Regions from separate parts of the Homo sapiens genome. Here regions 1, 3, 4, 5, 6 and 7 are each linked to region 2. The links are contacts of gene promoters, found by promoter capture Hi-C in blood cells and fetal thymus (Javierre and others, 2016). All regions are on one chromosome and are shown on one strand. The core of a region is centred on a gene start or on the middle of the fragment in contact, and the rest is flanking DNA. Distances in the headings are between cores, read along the strand shown. Region 1 has its middle 2.2 kb from the start of LMO4. Region 2 holds the start of ZRANB2 (zinc finger RANBP2-type containing 2). Region 3 overlaps ODF2L (outer dense fiber of sperm tails 2 like). Region 4 overlaps CLCA4-AS1 (CLCA4 antisense RNA 1). Region 5 overlaps ZNHIT6 (zinc finger HIT-type containing 6). Region 6 has its middle 6.3 kb from the start of NFIA. Region 7 holds the start of HOOK1 (hook microtubule tethering protein 1).

The links. Contacts are between HindIII fragments. The CHiCAGO score rates a contact against its expected background, and 5 or more counts as called.
Region 1: a contact is called between a fragment that was not itself captured here and the fragment with the promoter of ZRANB2 in region 2, in 1 of 17 cell types (non-activated CD4 T cells). The highest score is 7.5, in non-activated CD4 T cells.
Region 3: a fragment that was not itself captured here is called in contact with the fragment with the promoter of ZRANB2 in region 2 in 2 of 17 cell types (total CD4 T cells and non-activated CD4 T cells); the score reaches 7.5 in total CD4 T cells.
Region 4: a fragment that was not itself captured here is called in contact with the fragment with the promoter of ZRANB2 in region 2 in 1 of 17 cell types (total CD4 T cells); the score reaches 6.9 in total CD4 T cells.
Region 5: a contact is called between a fragment that was not itself captured here and the fragment with the promoter of ZRANB2 in region 2, in 2 of 17 cell types (non-activated CD4 T cells and total CD4 T cells). The highest score is 14.1, in non-activated CD4 T cells.
Region 6: a fragment that was not itself captured here is called in contact with the fragment with the promoter of ZRANB2 in region 2 in 2 of 17 cell types (total CD4 T cells and naive CD4 T cells); the score reaches 6.4 in total CD4 T cells.
Region 7: the fragment with the promoter of HOOK1 here is called in contact with the fragment with the promoter of ZRANB2 in region 2 in 2 of 17 cell types (total CD4 T cells and activated CD4 T cells); the score reaches 5.5 in total CD4 T cells.

The regions. Positions count from the first base shown.
Region 1 is chr1:87,325,297-87,327,996 of GRCh38, forward strand. No RefSeq gene overlaps it. Among named protein-coding and RNA genes, the nearest start is that of LMO4, 2.2 kb to the right of the region's middle. RefSeq lists a silencer at 767-816. The HindIII fragment of the contact is 2,574 bases long and covers 43-2,616 here.
Region 2 is chr1:71,079,616-71,082,315 of GRCh38, forward strand. It overlaps ZRANB2 (zinc finger RANBP2-type containing 2), which reads right to left and starts at 1,420. Exons shown (of 10, transcript NM_203350.3): 1 at 1,325-1,420. The coding sequence starts at 1,380. It overlaps ZRANB2-DT (ZRANB2 divergent transcript), which reads left to right and starts at 1,709. Exons shown (of 4, transcript NR_046217.1): 1 at 1,709-1,798. RefSeq lists an enhancer at 1,370-1,659. The HindIII fragment of the contact is 3,322 bases long and covers 1,275-2,700 here.
Region 3 is chr1:86,392,245-86,394,944 of GRCh38, forward strand. The region is part of intron 1 of ODF2L (outer dense fiber of sperm tails 2 like); the gene reads right to left. Among named protein-coding and RNA genes, the nearest start is that of ODF2L, 2.7 kb to the right of the region's middle. The HindIII fragment of the contact is 1,160 bases long and covers 703-1,862 here.
Region 4 is chr1:86,701,104-86,703,803 of GRCh38, forward strand. It overlaps CLCA4-AS1 (CLCA4 antisense RNA 1), which reads right to left. Exons shown (of 5, transcript NR_135837.1): 1 at 2,504-2,700. Among named protein-coding and RNA genes, the nearest start is that of CLCA4-AS1, 2.0 kb to the right of the region's middle. RefSeq lists an enhancer at 2,677-2,700. The HindIII fragment of the contact is 2,416 bases long and covers 243-2,658 here.
Region 5 is chr1:85,702,846-85,705,545 of GRCh38, forward strand. The region is part of intron 4 of ZNHIT6 (zinc finger HIT-type containing 6); the gene reads right to left. Among named protein-coding and RNA genes, the nearest start is that of ZNHIT6, 4.2 kb to the right of the region's middle. The HindIII fragment of the contact is 1,214 bases long and covers 828-2,041 here.
Region 6 is chr1:61,074,900-61,077,599 of GRCh38, forward strand. It overlaps a transcript of NFIA not described here. Among named protein-coding and RNA genes, the nearest start is that of NFIA, 6.3 kb to the right of the region's middle. The HindIII fragment of the contact is 3,593 bases long and covers 1-2,700 here.
Region 7 is chr1:59,813,601-59,816,300 of GRCh38, forward strand. HOOK1 (hook microtubule tethering protein 1) reads left to right here and starts at 1,349. Exons shown (of 22, transcript NM_015888.6): 1 at 1,349-1,580. The coding sequence starts at 1,518. It overlaps LOC105378758 (a long non-coding RNA gene), which reads right to left and starts at 1,266. Exons shown (of 5, transcript XR_947426.3): 1 at 1,162-1,266. RefSeq lists a silencer at 817-1,416 and an enhancer at 1,653-2,216. The HindIII fragment of the contact is 6,303 bases long and covers 1-2,700 here.

The DNA of each region.
Region 1 (2,700 bases), core at 80-2,579, about 16 Mb after region 2:
TCTCCACACCTTTTACACTCTGGAATTGTTGTCCTAGACTCAAGCTTTTTGTATTCACGTTGGAGGAAACTGAATATCAAGGGATCTCTGTGATGGCAGCAATAAAGTTGAGCAGATTTTTAAAAATTTTCCTTCCTAAAAAGACTTTCTTCAAAAACGGTTTTGCATTGACTTTAAAAGGACAGAATATTTTTTCCTGAGAAAGAGCTGGGGCATGTTGTCTTGGAGGTCATATCAGCATCAAATAGCCTAGACTTTCTCCAGACATTAAAGGCTGCATAGGTCTGTGTAGAACCTCTGGCTGTCCATGGGAGATTCTTAGCGAACTGTCACTTGGAGAAAAGAATGATTATGATTGAAGGACATAAACGAGAAAGGAAGCTATGAACAAATAATTTTGGGGCAAGTGGAGAAAATGACGGCTTGATCTAGGAGCAGTATGGTTCCCACATTTAATTAGGATTCAAGAAAGAAACGATTTACATTTATCTTTCTTTTCCAAAGCCCCCTAATCTTATATCTCATTGCAGATGAGTAGGATGAATGATGAATGTGTGATATCAGCAGAGGTTTCGTCAACTGTGGGGCACAATATAACATTATTTCGAGTTAGGCAATTTTACTTCATACCAGGAATATTACTTTATGCACTGTTTTTAATATTTGTTTGAAGAATATCCGAATACAGAATTTCTTTACCCATACTGAATTTGTGTGTGTTTACAAGGTTTTTGTGTTTCGCATCAGTGGAAATAAAAGATTGACGTTGCTACCCACTCAACCAGGCATTTTCAGACCACAAATCAGGATGAGAAAGGACTGCTAAACGCAAAGAATGCAGAAATAAAGATTACCCAGAGGTGGCGCTGTGGTAAAAGTACACCTGAATTTTGATTACAGTGAATGTATTTACTCCCTACCTCTCAGAAGAGAGACTGTTAGCCATTATCGCTTTTGTATTTCTATAAACACACATCAGCAAATAAAGCTCTCTGGTAATACACTCCCATCCACTCCAATCTACCAGGACATGTTTAAAGACCTCACTCCGCACAGAATTAGAGCTGAAGCACTAAAACCACCTCCTAAAATGTAGGCCCTGTAGCCTAGAGCTCTGTTATTCAAAGTTTTATCCATCTCACTCTCCTTCCTTCCACAAACACCACCGGGATCCTCTGGATAATCACTCAATGATAGCTGAACATGTGTCTGGTTAAATTTCTAACATTTCCTTCAGGAATTAAGATTTCGTTTTAGTGCATATTCTTCAGGAAAAATCCTGAAAAGTACCACAATTCGTTATACATCTATGCATTATGTGCTCTATCTAAGAAAATCATTTTTAAAAAGAAAAAATAAAGACCATTTGGCTTAATTCTCTCATTTGTGGATGAGAAAATTAAGGCCCAGAGACGGAAATTTACTTGCACATGACAAATCATAACTTAATTGTAGCCCACTAAGATCTTGTGTCATCTCCTTTTATTATAAATTATTTAAAAAGTGAAAATGAACCAGGGGATTCAAATGTATTATTTGTTTATGGTGTTCCTCTCCTCATCTGGTTTAATTGAGTTTTCTTGACTAACCTTCAAGCAGCATTACATCTTTTCTAAGTTGGTCCTCTTTAATCATGCCCATCTGTAGCTGTTTTCTGTGTAGGACATTTTAATTACTATTATAGTTTTAATGACTTTTTTTTAAAAAAAGTTTTTTATATGTGCACAAGGTGAATTCATCATAGCAGTGCAACTTTAAATACAAATCAATAAAATTAATTCATTTAATTTTAAGGTGCTAGAATTAAAAAATGAGTATTTGAATTGATATTTAAAATGCCCTCTACCTGACTGTATGGGCAATAATTATTCTTTCTTATGCAGCCTTATTAATTTTGATGGTTTGAAAGACAGAAATCCCCCAAATAGACACTAAAACCCTAAATGTTCAACATCTGCATTGTCTCGCCAGATTCTCCTTCAGGTTCCTTTCCTCAATCTAGCAGTACTGTGTGTAACACAATATGAAAACTTGCCCCACAAGGCTGGTTTTACTTAATGATACTTAGCAGAAGGGCTTTGCACTTTCATGATAATTTCCACCAGAAAAATCTCTCTGGAACTTACTAACAATAATCAGGCCTAATATTAGCCTCAGTCTGGAGATTTATTTAACCTATTTGGCAGAGTAGATAAAGTCGAATGCCTAGGTATTCAAGCATCTAGGCTGTGCTTCGGCCTTGGAAAAAGACTCTCAGGCTAGCACCCTAAAAGCATTCCTCAAAACTTGATTTATACTAGAAGTGACATTTCTTACTCTCTAGAGGCTGTGAGATTGCAAATCTTGCAATTACTTCCATTGCTTTTGGGGGCTGTGAGAATTTCCGCCTCTCATCCTCCACAGTGAGGAGGGTAGTCGGGAAAGGCTTTCTCCCTTAAGTTTTCGTCAACTTTGAAAATAAGGACTGTGCTCCCTACATCACCAGCAATTGACAAGGATCCAGGAAATGCCTGCTAGGCACTTTCAAACTCGGAAAAATGGGAGTATGAGGGAGGCTAAGTAGGCAGTATTTAGCTAGCAACTATTATTTCCTTTATGTTTCTACCTTGTTAACTAAGCTTCCACTACGGTTCATAAATCTCCAATATCGTGAATTAAAGAAACAACAACAAAAATCCTCTTCTGTGTGCTTGTGCGTGA
Region 2 (2,700 bases), core at 170-2,669:
GAAAATTTATCCTGCATTTAAACATATTGTACAAACAACATTCTATTCATATATTTGTAAATGAGTTGAAATGAACTCTCATTGAGAGTCCTACCTCTGGGTGTGCTGTCATTAAAGACACTGACAAAAGCACATTATTTTACAGGTAACAACAAAGTCAGAAGTTGTTGTTCTAAATCTTTTGAACGTTTTCAATAATGTCTTACCACTCAGAGCAATACTATCCATAACATATAACTTTGGTTCTATTCAGTATCATTTGTTAGGCTTGAACTACTCCTTCAGGTCATCTTAATATCAAATTACTATCAATAGCCACCAATTAGAATTTGCTACACGTCACTGTTTACACACCCTATCCATGTTATTTCATGTTTTCATTAAAAAAAAAATTCTATTCCTTTTTTAGCAGTTAAATAAGTAATAGAATTTTAACTAAACCCAGGTTTATTTCAAAGTTTTTGCTTTTTACAATCAAAACCTATTTGTGGCTAACTTAGGTACAACAAATAAAAGGCTTTTATGTGAACATGAGTTGTACATTAAATTATTTTCCATGTTATTTCCGAATAGATACACCTATTTGTGCACCCTTCAAAAAAAATCTGATTAACTATCTAGTCGAGTACTGGCTTTGGCAACAATGTCAAAAAGCAGAGCCACTAACACACGTGCTTCTCTGCTGCAGGCATCTTAAGGGCTGAGTAGGCAAAAACACAGGCCTCTTCCCTCCTTTTCGGCTCTAAGGAGGCGAAAAGCCCAATTCTTGTGGAGAAATGATCCACAAAGAAAATGTCAGAATTTCCCAAACCGAAGAGGGTAGAGCTTCCGGAAAAGGGGAAAATAGTATGGAGGAAAAGTTTGAGTAAAAATACAAAACAAGGTGAACTATAAGAGGCAAAAGGACGAGTGCGAGAAAGCAATATTTTCCGTGAACAAGAGTAAAGTTCTGCAGAGAAAAGTCACGTGGGGGAGATCCAACACCAAGCTGGCCTGACTGGAGAGGTTTCCTATCGCTAAAACCTGGCCGGGGCGGGGGAGGGGGGTGGGGGCAAAAAGGTAGGCCATCTCGCACTCTAAAAAGAGAGGCTACCTTGCGGAGGTAATGTCGAGGAAACGCTGAAGACATATCTAGAACAAAGGCTCCCGGAAAGACCTCTCTCGTGAGGAGATTGGGAGCCTTCTTCCCGCCAGGGAACTGGCGGTTCGCCGCCTCAACCCGTCTTAAGGCACAGAAAATCATAAAAAAGGAAAATGCCGGACGGACCTCGGAAAGCTTCCACTAACAAACTCCGTCCCAATTCAGGACCCTTCTTGAACTCACTTTTTGTCAGGGCAAATCCAGTCCCCGTCACTGACTCGGAAATTCTTGGTCGACATCTTGAACGCCACCAGCACAGCCACCCGCAGCTATGTCTTCACAGGAGGAAAACGGGCCGGGGACTTTCGGCAACTCGGGGCTGTCCCCACACTGCCTGACTCGCGCCTACTACTGTGTCAGGGTTTGATAATGAGGGAACTAGCCAGGAATTCAGCTTGTACGTTGTTGTCCAGACTAAGATGCCTGTGCTACTGTTTGTTAGATGGAAAAGTTAAAATACAAATATCTTTTCTAGAACTAAACTCACAGGCGCCATAAGGACAACCCAGGCAGGAGGCCTTCGTGGCACTAGAAGCCTCGGAGAGCCCCCTACAGGTGGGAGGACCCAAGAGTAAAGTACTTCCGCTTCCTTAGGTGGAGCTGGAAAGGTGGAGGCGGAAGTGACTGATCAATTCAGGGGCGTGGGGTTCGTTTAGGGTAAGAGGCGGCTCGGGCTCTTCAAGTGTTTAGAGAAATTATTTTAATAAGGCATAAAAATTCTGTTATTTCATACACATGGGATGTCGTTTGGAAACCTATTTTTATATATACATAAATAGGTGTAACAGATAAGTAAGCAACTTATACATGGGAACCAGCTGGTAATTTTAAAACTGAGACATTGTCAACACTGTTTAAATTACCAGTGTCTTTTCTGATACCATCCCATTACTTTCTTCCACAGATAACACTTTCCCATATTTGGGATTTATTCTTTTGCTTTTTAAAAATTTATGTACGTTGTTAGTCCAAACTGCACCATTTTTGTAAGCCCCCCTGCCATTTTGCAGACCTTAGTCAAAGTGAAACATTCCACGGGGTTCGGGCGTGAGAAACAGGCTGCCTCTTATACTCTGCTGGGAGAAAGTACCACATTCCACTGGAACAAGGGCCAGAGCCGCCTCGTCCTGGGAACACCTTATCAACATGTTCCCAGGAAGCAGGCCATGGCCCCCCAGACCACTCCCACCCAGGCCTATAAATCACCCCAGCCTGTAAGAAGCAACGGGCACTGGCATTAAGCTGGTCTCCCACCTCTGTAGGTCTTATGCTGGACATAAATCCTGTATTTGTTGTTAAGCCACCCTCTCTTTCTTTAATCCTTGCCTTCCCTTCAAAACCTAACATACATGTATGTTTAATTTTATGAGCTGTGTAAGCATAGTTGATTCTGTACTCTTTTTTTGTTCATTATGCTTCTAAATTAATCCTAGGTAGTTGCATGTAGAAGTGTATAGGTGTAATTCTTTTATTTGCACTGATGTATACTGATACTATTCCGTTTTGTGGTTTTGTGACAGTTTATTCCTTCTGTTTCTCAGGCTTGGTATTACAAACAA
Region 3 (2,700 bases), core at 33-2,532, about 15 Mb after region 2:
CTAGTACAACCGCTATGGAAAACAGTGTGGAGATTCCTTAAAGAACTAATAGTAGAGCTACCATTTGATCCAGCAATCCCACTACTAGCCACCTACCCAGAGGAAAAGAAGTCATTATATAGAAAAGATACTTGCACATGCATGTTTATAGCAACACAATGTCCATCAAACAATGAGTAAAAAAACTGTGATATACATATATATATAATATATACATGATAAAATACTACTCAGCCATAAAAAGGAATAAATTAACGGCATTCACAGCAACATGGATGGAATTGGAGACTATTACTCTAAGTGAAGTAACTCAGCAATAAAAAACCAAACATCATATGTTCTTACTTATAAGTGGGAGCTAAGCTATGAGGATGCAAAGGGGTAAGAATGAATCAGTGGACTTTGGAGATTCAGGGTGAAAGGGTGGGAAGGGGGTGAGTGATAAAAGACTACCAATTGGAATTCAGTGTACACTGCTCAGGGATGGGTGCACCAAAATCTCACAAATCACCACTCAAGAACTCACTCATGTAACCAAATACCACCTGTTCCCCAAAAACCTATGGAAATAAAAAATTTTAAAAAACCATTTAAAAATCCTTAAAGATGAGCAATTTTAAAATATTTTAAAATGTTTAAAGATTTAAATTTCCTATACAGAGACAATTTTGCCAGTCTACTGCCAAGAGGACATGTACTTAAAGCTTTTTCCAGGAGTGCTTGTAGGCTATGCTGATCCAGCTACATTCACTAAACTATGTTCCACTGTGGCCAACAGCAAGCATTTGGGGATAACTGCTCAGGGACCATGATGCTAGCCATGGTCAGAGAAAAAGGAAAATCATGGTCCATGACCTTCCTTAACACCTAGATCAGACTAAGTAAATTAACTAACTTCAGATGAATATGTATTTTAAAACAATATCTCTGAAGAGAATAGCATATGAAACCTGCACATTTTGTTTTGCCAAACACAAATTCTTAGAAAACTAACTTCCACTGGCTTCAAACACAGCTTCTACTGAAAAAAGTCACCATGGCATATTCAGCAAGGAACACAAAGTAGATACAGGAATCCTCTTTTTTTCCCCCTACTATTCTGGACACTAGTCAAACGTTTACTAGAGAGGTAATTGTATGAAAAAAAAAAAAAGGATAGGAATCTTGGAAACAGGCAAAAAGCTGGAAAATAAATCTTATGCGTAAAAGCTACCAAAATGGAAAAAACGTTTTCTGATACAGAGAGATTAGATTAGATAACAAATTAGTAATCCCTCTCTCCAATGAAAAAAGAAGGATGTATATTTAAAAGATGGGCTGCAGACTGGATAATATAGGAAGAAGAGTTGACAGCAAGAGTGACTGTTCTGTAAACACGGCATGTACTTCAAAGCCAACATTCCATTTCCTTCTCAAAGTGTTGCCCTGATTTCTCCAGCCCATCAAGAACTCTAAACAAAAGTATTTTCAGAATCATATAGTTTAGAATTTAACTGCTCCATAAATGCTCATATTTTAGTTCTCTTTTAAACTTGCTATTAACTGTGAGGACAAATAATACGCATCACTCTCTGCCCTAAAAAATTACCTAACACAGTGGGGAGCATAGATTAGGTTCTCAAATATAAGTTAGGGTGACTAAATTATTTACTGTTTAAACTCGGACACTTTTGAGTGTCCATATAGAGCCCAATTACCCGGAAAAAGACCTGGCCAAAGATGTTCAGAATATTGTCTAATCCCAAATAAAGTCACCATCCTGTACCAGACAAACATAAAGCATATTCCTTTCCTTCAACACGACAGCTGTTGCCATTTACTGAGCAGAGCACTGACTGACCTTATAAACATCATCTCACAAAAGCTTCACAAGGTTGTTATTAAAAAGCTATAAATAAGTAAATTAAATCTTAGAAGGGTTAAATAGCTTGTCCAAGATTACAAGTAAGGAATTGGTGGAACTCAGTTTTGAATTAAAAGCCATGAGATGGTGAAACCGCATCTCTACTAAAAATACAAAAATTAGCTAGGCGTGGTGGTGGGCACCTGTAGTCCCAGCTACTCGAGAGGCTGAGGCAGGAGAATCACTTGAACCCGGGAGGCGGACGTTGCAGTGAGCCGAGATCGCGCCACTGCACTCCACTGCGGCAGAGCGAGACTCCATCTCAAAAAAAAAAAAAAGCCATGAGATACTAAAACATAAATATAAAAATCTACAAAGCAAAAAGTAACACACAAACTTGCCTTTATTCAGTCAGGTTTTAATACTCATAAGTTCAATTTAGATTCAAAAGATGAAAACTGTTCTGGACAAGGAAATGAGTGATGAATGAGCTAGCTAAAAGCACAGACTACAATTCTAAAGAGAGAGAGCAGACCGCGACCAGATCACTAAATTCCATTGTTCTAAAGTTTGTCACAAGGAACTTTTGGGATAGAAAAACTACACTATAAATACACATCCATTGTGAAATAAGAAGATGAAAAAGAGAAGCAAAAAGCAAATCATAAACATGATCATGACATTCTTACTATAAGCAGAATATCAAACTAATTTCAAAAGCAGACAGGTTTTCTGCAGTTTGTTTCTTTTTCCTTTTTTTTTTTTTTTTTTGAGACAGAGTCTCGCGCTGTCGCCCAGGCTGGAGTGCAGTGGCGCGATCTCGGCTCACGGCAAGCTCCGCCTCCTGGGTTCACGCC
Region 4 (2,700 bases), core at 201-2,700, about 16 Mb after region 2:
CCCAAAGTGCTGGGATTATAGGCATGAGCCACCGCGCCTGGCCTTTATAATTTTTAAAAATACACGGTAACTTGTGATAAGACCTTGGGCCCTTGGTGCAAACAGAAATCAGTTAACTGTGAGCACACCCTGTCCCCCAACTTCATGACCTCACACACACACATAAGTTAAAAACCCATGAAATTCTGTACCCTCAATGAAAGGGTAGACTAGATAGAAGCTTTTCTTCTGGCATAGTAAGAAGCTTTTCTGTCAAGGCACAAGCTCTGAAAGAGAAAAAAACAAGGAAGATCTCTCTCCCTTGAGAATTTGAATCATAGTTTGTACTCCCACAAATCTGGGTTCAAATTTATAATATCTGAATGATCTTAGAACTTCTAAGCCAAGAAAGAAATTCATGTAAAAATTGCTCACTAGCCAGTGATAACCTTAGGGGTCTCTGACAGAAGAAACATTTTTTTCTGTATCACTAAAAATGAGCCATAAAAAAAAAAGCTAAAAGGAATCAATGTACAAAGCAAAAGGAATCAATCCACAAACAAAAAGGTCATCAAATACACAAATAGAAGTATTAGACCCCTAAATGCAAAAGGATTTATCTATATGATATCATTTATGCAGTTTAAAAATATAACATAGTAGTACCATTCATAGATACATATAAATTCAGTGAAAGTACAAAAACATAACAGATATTAATCATACCAATTTAAAAATAGTGGCTAACTCTGGGGAAGGAATAGTGTCAAGAAAAGCCTGAATAATTGATCCAGACTGAAGGAGAATTGAGCAACAAGCTAACTGGATGCAGCACATGATCTTTCTTGGCTGGGACGTTTTTGCTGTAAAGACATTGGAATAATTGGCAAAGTTTGAGTGGGGTTTCTAGGCAAAGGGTACACAGAAGTTTTTGTACTATTCTTGCAACAGTTTTCTTAGTTTGTAAATTGTTTCAAGTTAAAAAATTTGTTTTTAAAAAGAGGATGAAAATGAAAAATAGGAAACAGTTTCAGAGAAGAAATTGCCAGGATAGACCAATTGGTGGTGGGAAATAAGAGGAAATAATCAAAGGGGACTCAGATTTCTGGCTTAGGTGATTTGGTGTGTATGATTCAATTTATCAATGTAGGAAACCCAAGAAAAGAAGAATTTTCAGGAAAAGCAAACTATAACAGACTTGCCACTGGAAATATTGAATCTATGGATAAATAGTTGGAAATTTAGGCTGGGGGTGATGGTGTCACAAAAGAGCTTAGCACTGTAAACATCTTGATTTGATTACTTTTTTCACTTACTAAATCATTTGGGAATTCACTATGTTGCCTGTGTAAACCATAAAATATATAAAAATAAATAGGAAACGGACACTGCCCTTAAGGGACTGATATCTGGTAAGAGAAGTAGAATCAGTCTGTAGGCAAAGGGTAGAGACTGATGGAGCAAGTTCTAGAGGGTGACAAATTAGTTCTCAACCTTGGTCACACATTAAGAACACCTAGAGGAACTCCTAAAACATCCCAATGCCCAGTCCACACTCTGGGACTGGATCCAGGCATCAGTGGTTGCTTAAACTCTCCAGGTGATGCTGATGTGCAGCCAAGATTAAGGGAGCAGTGGCTCTACTCAGAACACCTGAGACACCTATTCCTTTGAAACATTTGGCAATGATGCAGGAAAGAGTGTGGAGAGAACAGGAGGTGGAAATAAGGAAATTTGGTTGAAGAGGCTTCTGCCAAACAGAGTGATGATTTATATTTTCTCTGTAAAGAAAGCGAATCAGCTGGGTGCGGTGGCTCACACCTGTCATCCCAGCACTTTGGGAGGCTGTGGCAGGCGGATCACTTGAGGCCAGGAGTTCGAGACCAGCCTGGCCCACATGGTGAAACTCTGTCTCTACTAAAGATATAAAAAATTAGCCGGGCGTGGTGATGCATGCTTGTAATCCCAGCTACTTGGAAGGCTGAGGCAGGAGAATCCTTGAACCCAGGAGGCAGAGGTTGCAGTGAGCTGAGATCACACCATTGCACTCCAGCCTGGGTGACACAGCAAAACTCTGTCTCAAAAAAAAAAGTGTCAAAGGCTAAGAATAAGGATATATGAAAATAAGGTAAGTCTTTTATGGAGAATGGGGAAACAGGATTACAGCTACAGAGGGTGCAAAAGAAAGAAGTAACATTGTTGTTTTCCCAAGACTGGGAAGATTGAAACACTTGAGGATGAGGATTCAGGGACACCACTGTGTCCACCATTAAAGAATTTCCCCTTTAATGGTGGACACGGTGGTGTGATCCTTTTGTAGAGACGAGCATAGGTTATGGCAAATATACCTACTTTAAAAACAGTGCTCTGGGAAGAGAGTAAGTGCTTTTCCACATAAAGATCTAAAATAGACAATAAATGAGAAATAGGGTTTTTTATTATATATTCATTTTTCCATATTTCTGGAAAATGAAACAGACATGGAGTATTTCAAAGCTGGGAGAGATCATTATATTGGAGTTACCTTAGAAAGAGGGGGCTGTTTCTGCCACCACAACAAAGAATGAAACAACACAAATATTTACGTTTTCTTCTTGTCCTCATAATGCTTTTACTGCACTCGTCTTTCAACCTTTAACATCTACTGCATCTGTGACTGTTGTTTCAGTAAAACACGGAAGCTTGAATGTAAGCTCATTTCATTGCCTGCTGCACAACCAC
Region 5 (2,700 bases), core at 185-2,684, about 15 Mb after region 2:
TTAAGCTAAACTGGGCAATTCCAGAGTTATGAAGGAAGTAATACCAGATTTTTATTAAGTCAAGGAAGAAGAAAGATCACTCAAATAAGAGGCAAAATATAAACGCAAGTTTTTTGTTAAGTGAATAGGGATCTAGAATTTGCAATGTAAACAGTCAGAATCAAGTCCATAAGCCAAGGAAAGGATGGGTCAGCTATCATTGGCTAAGTAGGAAACTGTTTTAAGAAATTACATGTAATTTTATAATTTAGAGGACTTTAGTTTCAGTAATGGTAGTGATAATTATAATAATTCTAATAGCAGTGACCAACCCTCCTAATATACCTTCAGGATAAGGGTGAACCAGAAACAATCTCTACTTTTAGAGCAAGCTAGGAAACTTGTATGGTTACACTGAAACAGAGGAAAAAAGAAAAAAAATCCATTAGCAGTTATGGCTATGGACCATCCCTTGCTTAGATTTGCAATTATTTTGCCTTGAAAACAGCACTGAATAGCCATACTCTAGAAAAAAAGTGGGAGGACTTAATCAGATAACAAGTTTCAGTAAAAAACCACAATAATTCAGAGAGCATAGTATTGGTGCAGGATATACCAGTAGGCCAACAGAATGGAAAAGACAAGGCCACAAAATGACCCAAGCATATAGGGATGCTGATATATGACAAAGGTGGTCCTACAGAGCAATAGGGAAAGGATGAACTTTCCAATAAATGGTGCTGGGAAAAGTGGATTATCTATATGAAAAATTAAATGGGAACTCCTCTGTATATGATACCAAAAATCAATTCCAGTTAAAGACATAAGTGTAAAACACAACAGTATAAAGCTTTTAGGCAATAACTATAAAAGAATAACTTCCTAACTTCAAGGTAGAGATGGATTTCTTTATAAACATATAAACCTACTAACTATAAAGGAAACAAATGATAAATTTGACTACATTAAAACTAAGAACATCCATTCACCACAAGACACTATAAAATGAAAAGACAAGACAAAGACTAGAAGAAGGTATTTATAACATACAACCAACTTGCACTAGCATCCAAGAAATACCAAGAATTCTCACAAACCAGTAAGAAAAATAAAGCTGACCAATGAAAAGATGAGCAAAAGACTTGAACAGGCACTGCATAAAAGAGGAAATCCAAATGGCCAATAAAGTATTTGAAAGGTGGTTCAATCTCATCAGGAATTAAAGAACTGCACATTTAAAACCACAATAAAATTACAAAGCCAACAGATTGACAAAAATTTTTAAAGTCTTACCAAACTAAGTATTGGCGAGAATATGACAATAGGTACATTCATACACTATTGGTGAGAGTGTAAACTAGTACAATCACTTTGGAAAATGTTTTGGTAACATCTAGGCAAATTGAAGATATGCATACCACACAACAAAGCAATTCTATTCCCAGGTATAAACCCTAGAAACACATGTTCACACACATACTATAATTCATAGACAAAAGTAGTGGCATTGTTTCTAAACTGTTTTTTATTCTTACAGAAAATCCAAAATCCATTAAAAAAATGCGTAAACAAATTGTGGTACAGTCCTAAGATAGAAAAAAATATAAAGAAATGAGAAAAGATCAGGGAAGGGCATAAAAGGGTGGCATGGAACTTCTGGGAAGCCAGTAATGTTCTAATTCTAGATTGGGGTGGTAGTTAAATGAATATTCATTTTATAATTATTCATTATACTGTGTATTTCCATTTTGTGATGTTTAGAAAATATACTTGCTATATTTCACAATTTAAAAAAAAATTGTAAAGTAATTTATCTTTAAGTAGAATTTTAATTATGCCTAATTAAGTTTGAGGAAAAATAAGAGTTGCTATATGAATAATTTTCTTTCAGATATGTGTAATGTAATTATGTCTGTACCAATAATACCAATAAAATAAGGTGTTTAAAAGGTATTAAAATTCTGCAACTCCAATACTAAAATGAACACAATTCCAGGATACGATTTAATCACACCATAAACAAATTTCTACAACACCAGTTGCCAAATATTCCAAATATGTAAGCTTTAATTTTGCATAGTATTTAAGGAATTAAAAAAGGAATGCAAGAGTATGAAAATTAAGTGTATTAGAATAGCAAGTCTTGTTAGCTCTTCCTTCAAAATCGCAATCTAATCCCTTCCCAATAATTCAAACAGTACACCCAAGCCACTATTATCTCACAAGGATCATGGGAAGAGCTGCATAATTGGTCTCCCTGCTTCCAATCTTCCATTCTTGCCCCGCTAAAGTTCACAAAGTGCAAGAGTGGTTTTTCAAAAGGCAAATTTATGTTCAAAACCCTTCCATGGTTTCCATTTGCACTTAGAATTAGAAACCCTCACCAGTTTCTTTTCTTTTTTCTTTTGAGACAGAGTCTCACTCTGTTGCCCAGGCTGGAGTGTAGTGGCGCAATCATGGCTCACTGCAGCCTTGACCTTCCTGGGCTCTGGTGATCCTCCCACCTCAGCTTCTCAAGTTGCTGGGAGTACAGGGGCACGCCACCACGCCTGGCTAATTTTTGTATTGTTTTATAGAGACGGGTTTTCACCATGTTGCCCAGGCTGGTCTTGAACTCCTGAGCTCAAGGAATGCTCTGGCCTCAGCCTCCCAAAGTGTTTGGATTACAGGCATGAGCCACTGCACCCAACTCCTCACCAGTTTCTCTAACTTCATTTTCAA
Region 6 (2,700 bases), core at 138-2,637, about 10 Mb before region 2:
TTGTTGACTAGATGGAGATATAAAAGGTCACTTTGGAAATGGTGCCAACCTACCATATCAAACTGAGTTAATGCACTACAGACAATGCACACAAAATTCACTGTTACCACCTACTTACAAGGCCTGGCCTGCTTAGCATCAGAGATTATTCAGACCATAGTATCTACAGAGCAATGCAGTACAGGTTGACACCTCTTCTGCATCTCAACGGTTCTTACCTTTTGACAAAACCTTCCACTCTCACAATAGGTTGATGTCTTGTTTTACAGGTGTTATGTAACCATCTCAAGGTCACACAGTCTAGTACCAGCTAAACCAGGCCCAAAACTTTTTTTTTTGGTTACTTAAAAAAATTGTTATTATTATTATTATTGTATTTTTAGTAGAGACGGGGTTTCACCATGTTGGCCAGGCTGGTCTCGAGATCCTGACCTGGTGATCCACCTGCCTCGGCCTCCCAAAGTATTATTTTTTATTTAAACTGAAGCCGCTACATCACATCAAGTGTATTTCTAGGTGAGAGTAGTACACCAAGTGGAAATGGATGCTCAGTGGAGGAGGCTAGGATTAAATGCCACAGGCTTGCTACAGCCAAGAGCATATCTGCATCTATGAGGGGCAGACCAGAACAGCAAAGCTAATGCCAAGGCCAGCCACAGTACGGCTACATCAGTCGACTAGTTGTAGAGAGCAAGACCGAAGCAAAAAATGTGATTCAACATAAAATATGAGGTTTCTCTAACCTCCAATTTAACTATGCAAGGTCCTGTTATTAATTAATTAGGTACCTTCACCAAGGACAGTTAAGAAAATCAGACAACTGCCAGGTTGCTTCCTATTACTCTTGACTTCTTACTGGATACTTTTAATCAAGCCAGGTAAGCACACGTTTTCCTCTAAGTTATTCAGCAAAATGTCCTATGCTCCTTAACTGACTCAAAGCAAACACAATTTTTTTTTTTTGAGACAGAGTCTCGCTCTGTCACCAGGCTGGAGTGCAGTGGTGTGATCTTGGCTCACTGCAACCTCCGCCTGCTGGGTTCAAGCGATTCTCGTGCCTCAGCCTCCCAAGTAACTGGGATTACAGGCACGCGCCACCACACCCGGCTAATTTTTGTAATTTTGGTAGAGACGGGGTTTCACCATGTTGGGCAGGATGGTCTCGATCTCCTGACCTTGTGATCCGCCCACCTCGGCCTCCCAAAGTGTTGGGATTACAGGCGTGAGCGACCGTGCCCAGCCAGCAATCACATTTTTAAAAACAACAACGAAAACCGCAGTAGCCTGGTTGTGTGCTTTCCATTTAAAGAGATAACTCCCTCCCTTCAGAGTCTTATTTCCTTGCTCTGCACCAATGGCTATTTTGTTGTTTAAAACAAACACTTAAACTGTTGACATTGAAATATCCAGACTACATGGTCTTAAAGAGTCTGGGTTAATGAAATAAGGTGAGTCAGTGAGATGAAGGACTTAATGTTCCAATAATTATCTTTTAAAACCCCCCTTTTAAATGTCAAAACTCTTACAGCTCTTCTCTTAGGGGAGTAGGAAGGGGAGGGGTCTCCTTTAATTTTGTGGAACCCAGGTTTTGTAAGGATATTGACAAATTAGATGCTTGGCAATTAAATTAGAATTTCACCGTATCTCCTGCCTTAAAAGAACAGCTTTATTCTTGAGGGAGCCCACCTAACAATTTTATGTTCAGTCATCTGCAGAGAATAGAGCCACTGTCTTTTTCTTTCCTAACCTAGGGTAGACGCTTTATTTCACTGCAAGTTCCCTGTGACATTTTGCACTCTCTTGATTTAATGCACCAAAGAGGATCTTTAACTCTTGGTCTACACTAGTGCAAATAAAGGTTAAATCTCTCACTAACCATCATGAACTAGCCTAATAACTCACGAGAGGCCCTGGAAAAAGAAACCGAGAGAGCAGGTGTGCAGACTTGATTAAAAGGTGCAAAACCCGCACAACCGCAGGCAAAGGTACTTTATCCTCACGTTGCCCAGTACCGGCTGCGAGGTGCGCAAGCAGGGGAACTTGTACTGCGCCAACAGAACGATTCCGAGAGCCGGGCCTAGTAACACAGGGGCTTTTCTTCAGAACGGTGTCCAGACCGGAGCTTGCGCCGAATGTAGGGGCTCCTATTGGCCACGCGCCGTAGGGGAGGAGACGACTGGCGGGGAGACAGACTGGAGGAGGGGAGAAGGGGGCAAGGCCTTTTCCCTGCCCCCTCCCTGCCCCCTCCGCCGCAGGCTGCCGCCGGTACCTCGTGCGTGGTTACTATGCAAATTGCAGCGATTGCGGAAATAAACAAGGGAGTTGGGAGAGGAGAGAGGGACTGCCGAATCGATTGCAACTTCTGCAAAGTCTCGTACAATCCAAAGCACGCAAGGCAAAACCAGAGCGAATCTGAGAACCAGCCAGCCCGGGTTGGATCGCTTTCAAAAGAGAGAGTGAGAGCGAGCGAGCGAGCGAGCGAGAGCGAGACAGTGAGAGAGGGAGAGAGCGCGCCTTGCAATTGCAAAAGCCTTCTGATTTGGAGTTAAAAAAAAAATTCTCCAAGAAGCCTGCAATTGGCCAACAGCTTTTTAAAAAATCTCTTCCGGGTTTTCAACGGTTCCAAGTTTATTTAGATATTTTTTAAATGCAAAAAAAAGGGGACAACAAATGAAGCAATTCGTCTGAGCATTTTAAAGT
Region 7 (2,700 bases), core at 99-2,598, about 11 Mb before region 2:
ATGAATGAGTGAAGTGACAGCAAGACTAAGAATAGTCTAGCCCTTTTCAATCACCTAAGCCATCTATCAATACCTTGGAGAGCTTCCAATTTCAGGTCACCTCCCCCGACCCCCCTCCACCCCACAACATTCTCGGAAAAAGCAAATTTTCAACTGACAAAGGAAAATGGATACATTAATATCTTCCATGTTTTTCAAAACATTTCGTTTATTTTGCTACTTGAAAACGGTCTTCCCTTTTGCCCCATGTAAAATAAAATTGCTCATGATCTATGGTCCCGTGAGAGCTTATTTAAGGAGCACTGACGGATTCTATTTTCCTTATTAATGTGGCATATTTGCCACGTGTGCAAATGAAAACATCCCTTTCCAATGAGTGCCTAGGAGGAAATCAGCTCTTCCTTCCTCGAAGAGTTTTAATTCATGGGTATGATCTATTTCTTTCTTTCTTTATTTTGTTTTATATATTTTTTAGAGACAGAGTCTCGGTTTTTTGTCCAGGCTGGGGTGCAGTGGCATGATCTCGGCTCACTGCAACCTGTGCCTCCCGGGTTCAAGCGATTCTTCTGCCTCAGCCTCCTGAGTAGCTGGGATTACAGTCATGTGCCACCACCCCCGGCTAATCTTTGTATTTTTAGTAGAGAATGGGTTTCGCCATCTTGGCCTGGCGGGTCTCGAACTCCTGACCTCAGGTGATCCACCCGCCTCAGCCTCCCAAAGTGCTAGGATTACAGGCGTGAGCCACCTCGCCCAGCCGGTAGGATCTATTTCTGAAGACAATGTGGAAGCAGAGTGTGGGCCCTCCACAGGTGTAGCGAGGCGGCGTGCTACCGCGAAGAAGGAGGGAAGACGCCTGAGCCCAGCCGGTGCCCTGCTGCCCCTCTGCCTCTTCGGCCACTGGGGCTGAGCTTCAGCCTTACCAATCCCCGCCGCGCACGCGCGCTCGCTTCCCGCGCGCAACCTCCCACCCCCGCCCTCACTGCACCTGCCAGGTCATAAACCTCTTCCCACCCACTCTCACTCTCTACCCAAGGCTCAGGCTTGTCTCACGTTGATTGGCCAGAGCCCACGAGGGCACGTCCAATCAGCAATCCCCCCTGCGCAACCTATCCCGGTTCTTCCCGCCCCCGCCCCGCCCCGCCCGCCCCCCCGGGTACCTACCGTCTCTGTGACTGGTGCGCGGCCAGGTCACTCAGGGCGGCGGGGCGAGGTGTGCGGGAGTGGGCAGGACGGGTGGGAGGAGGGGAGGGGTGGGAGAAGGCGGGGCTCAGGTGCCTGGCAGCGCGGCCGGGGCCCAGGAAGGGGAGGGGGCGAACGCTGGAGCGAGGCGGGGGCGGGTGAGGAGGGGGTGACGCCGGACGCGTCGACAGCGCGAGGGTTCGCGCGTGAGCTGCGCGGGTCGGGCCTGGTACCGAGCTTTCCTGGGGGCTAGCAGGTCGTGGACGCCGGCTCCTGGAGGAGAGCCGGTAGGAGGGAGTGTGAAGGTGTCCGCGGCGTCGTCGACGGCGGCGCCGGCCATGGAGGAGACGCAGCCGCCGCCGCAGCCTAAGCTGCCCCTGTGCGACAGCCTCATGATCTGGGTGAGTGCGAGGAGGCGAGAGGGCGAGGGGGCCAGGGGGCCGAGGCGAGGAGCCTGGGGCGCCCGGTTCTCCCAGGTGAGCTGGGGCTACCTGCACAGGGTCCCGGCGCACCCTGCCCTTCTCACCTCGTGCCCTTGACCGAGAGAATGCCACCTGCGGGTCGACGGGCAGGTGTGTGGGCGCGGGTTGGTGTCCGGGGGTGGGGGTAAAGGAAGCTCTGGGAGCGTAACAGTGGAGGCTCTGGTCTCAACCAGAGGATTCGACCTGCCTGGTGCCCTAACAGCTGGGATATGAACCAAGCACCCATCCTCTTTTCTCCCCGCTGCCCCATTTTCTCCCCCTGAACAGCGCCCGAGCCCTCCACTTTCTGGATCGCCGACTCTCTTGCCTTGGTCCGCTTGGGCGTGAAGACCCTTTCCGAAACCTAACCCTGCATCCTCAAACTACCTTGCTCTACCTGGACACAGGTGGCCAGGAGGTGGCTGGCTGTTTTAGTTCCCGGACCAATGCTCCTTCAGGACTCTAGAACATCCGATTTTGTAGAAGCCGCTTCAAAGAGATGTTTGTATTTCCCGTATGGAGAAAAAGATGTGTTGGGAGTCGGGGGTCGTTTTCCCTTTTTCTCGCTGGCCCTCTCCTCCTCTAAATGGACAGCATTTTCTTTAAAGAAAATGAGTTGACATTTTTCTTTAGGATTTATCTGTGTTTAGGATTTTTGTTAATTTGTGTTGGGTCTGGACAGGCATATCTGTCCCCAGATTGTTCAATATTCCAGTCAGCAAAATGACATCCCACCTCTTAGAGTTACTTAGATATCAGTGCTGGCATTCAGGTGTGGTTCTTAACCCATATTGAGTAAAGATGGTGTTTGATGAGCCACAAGGTGCTGTTGATGATGCTCATCCCAAACCAGTTGTTTAGTTGCGTCTAGGGGAGTGTGTGCAGATGGAATGTAAACAGACGGGATCAGGAGGCTGTAATCGGTTGAGATTCCCTAGTGATCTAATGCATCTAATTCCAAAGAATGAGAAATCTAGGTTTATGGAAATGTGTGAAGCCTATTGGAAATAGCCATAATTTAAAGCATTTACACTTTGTAAGTAAATAACTTTTGCTTTTA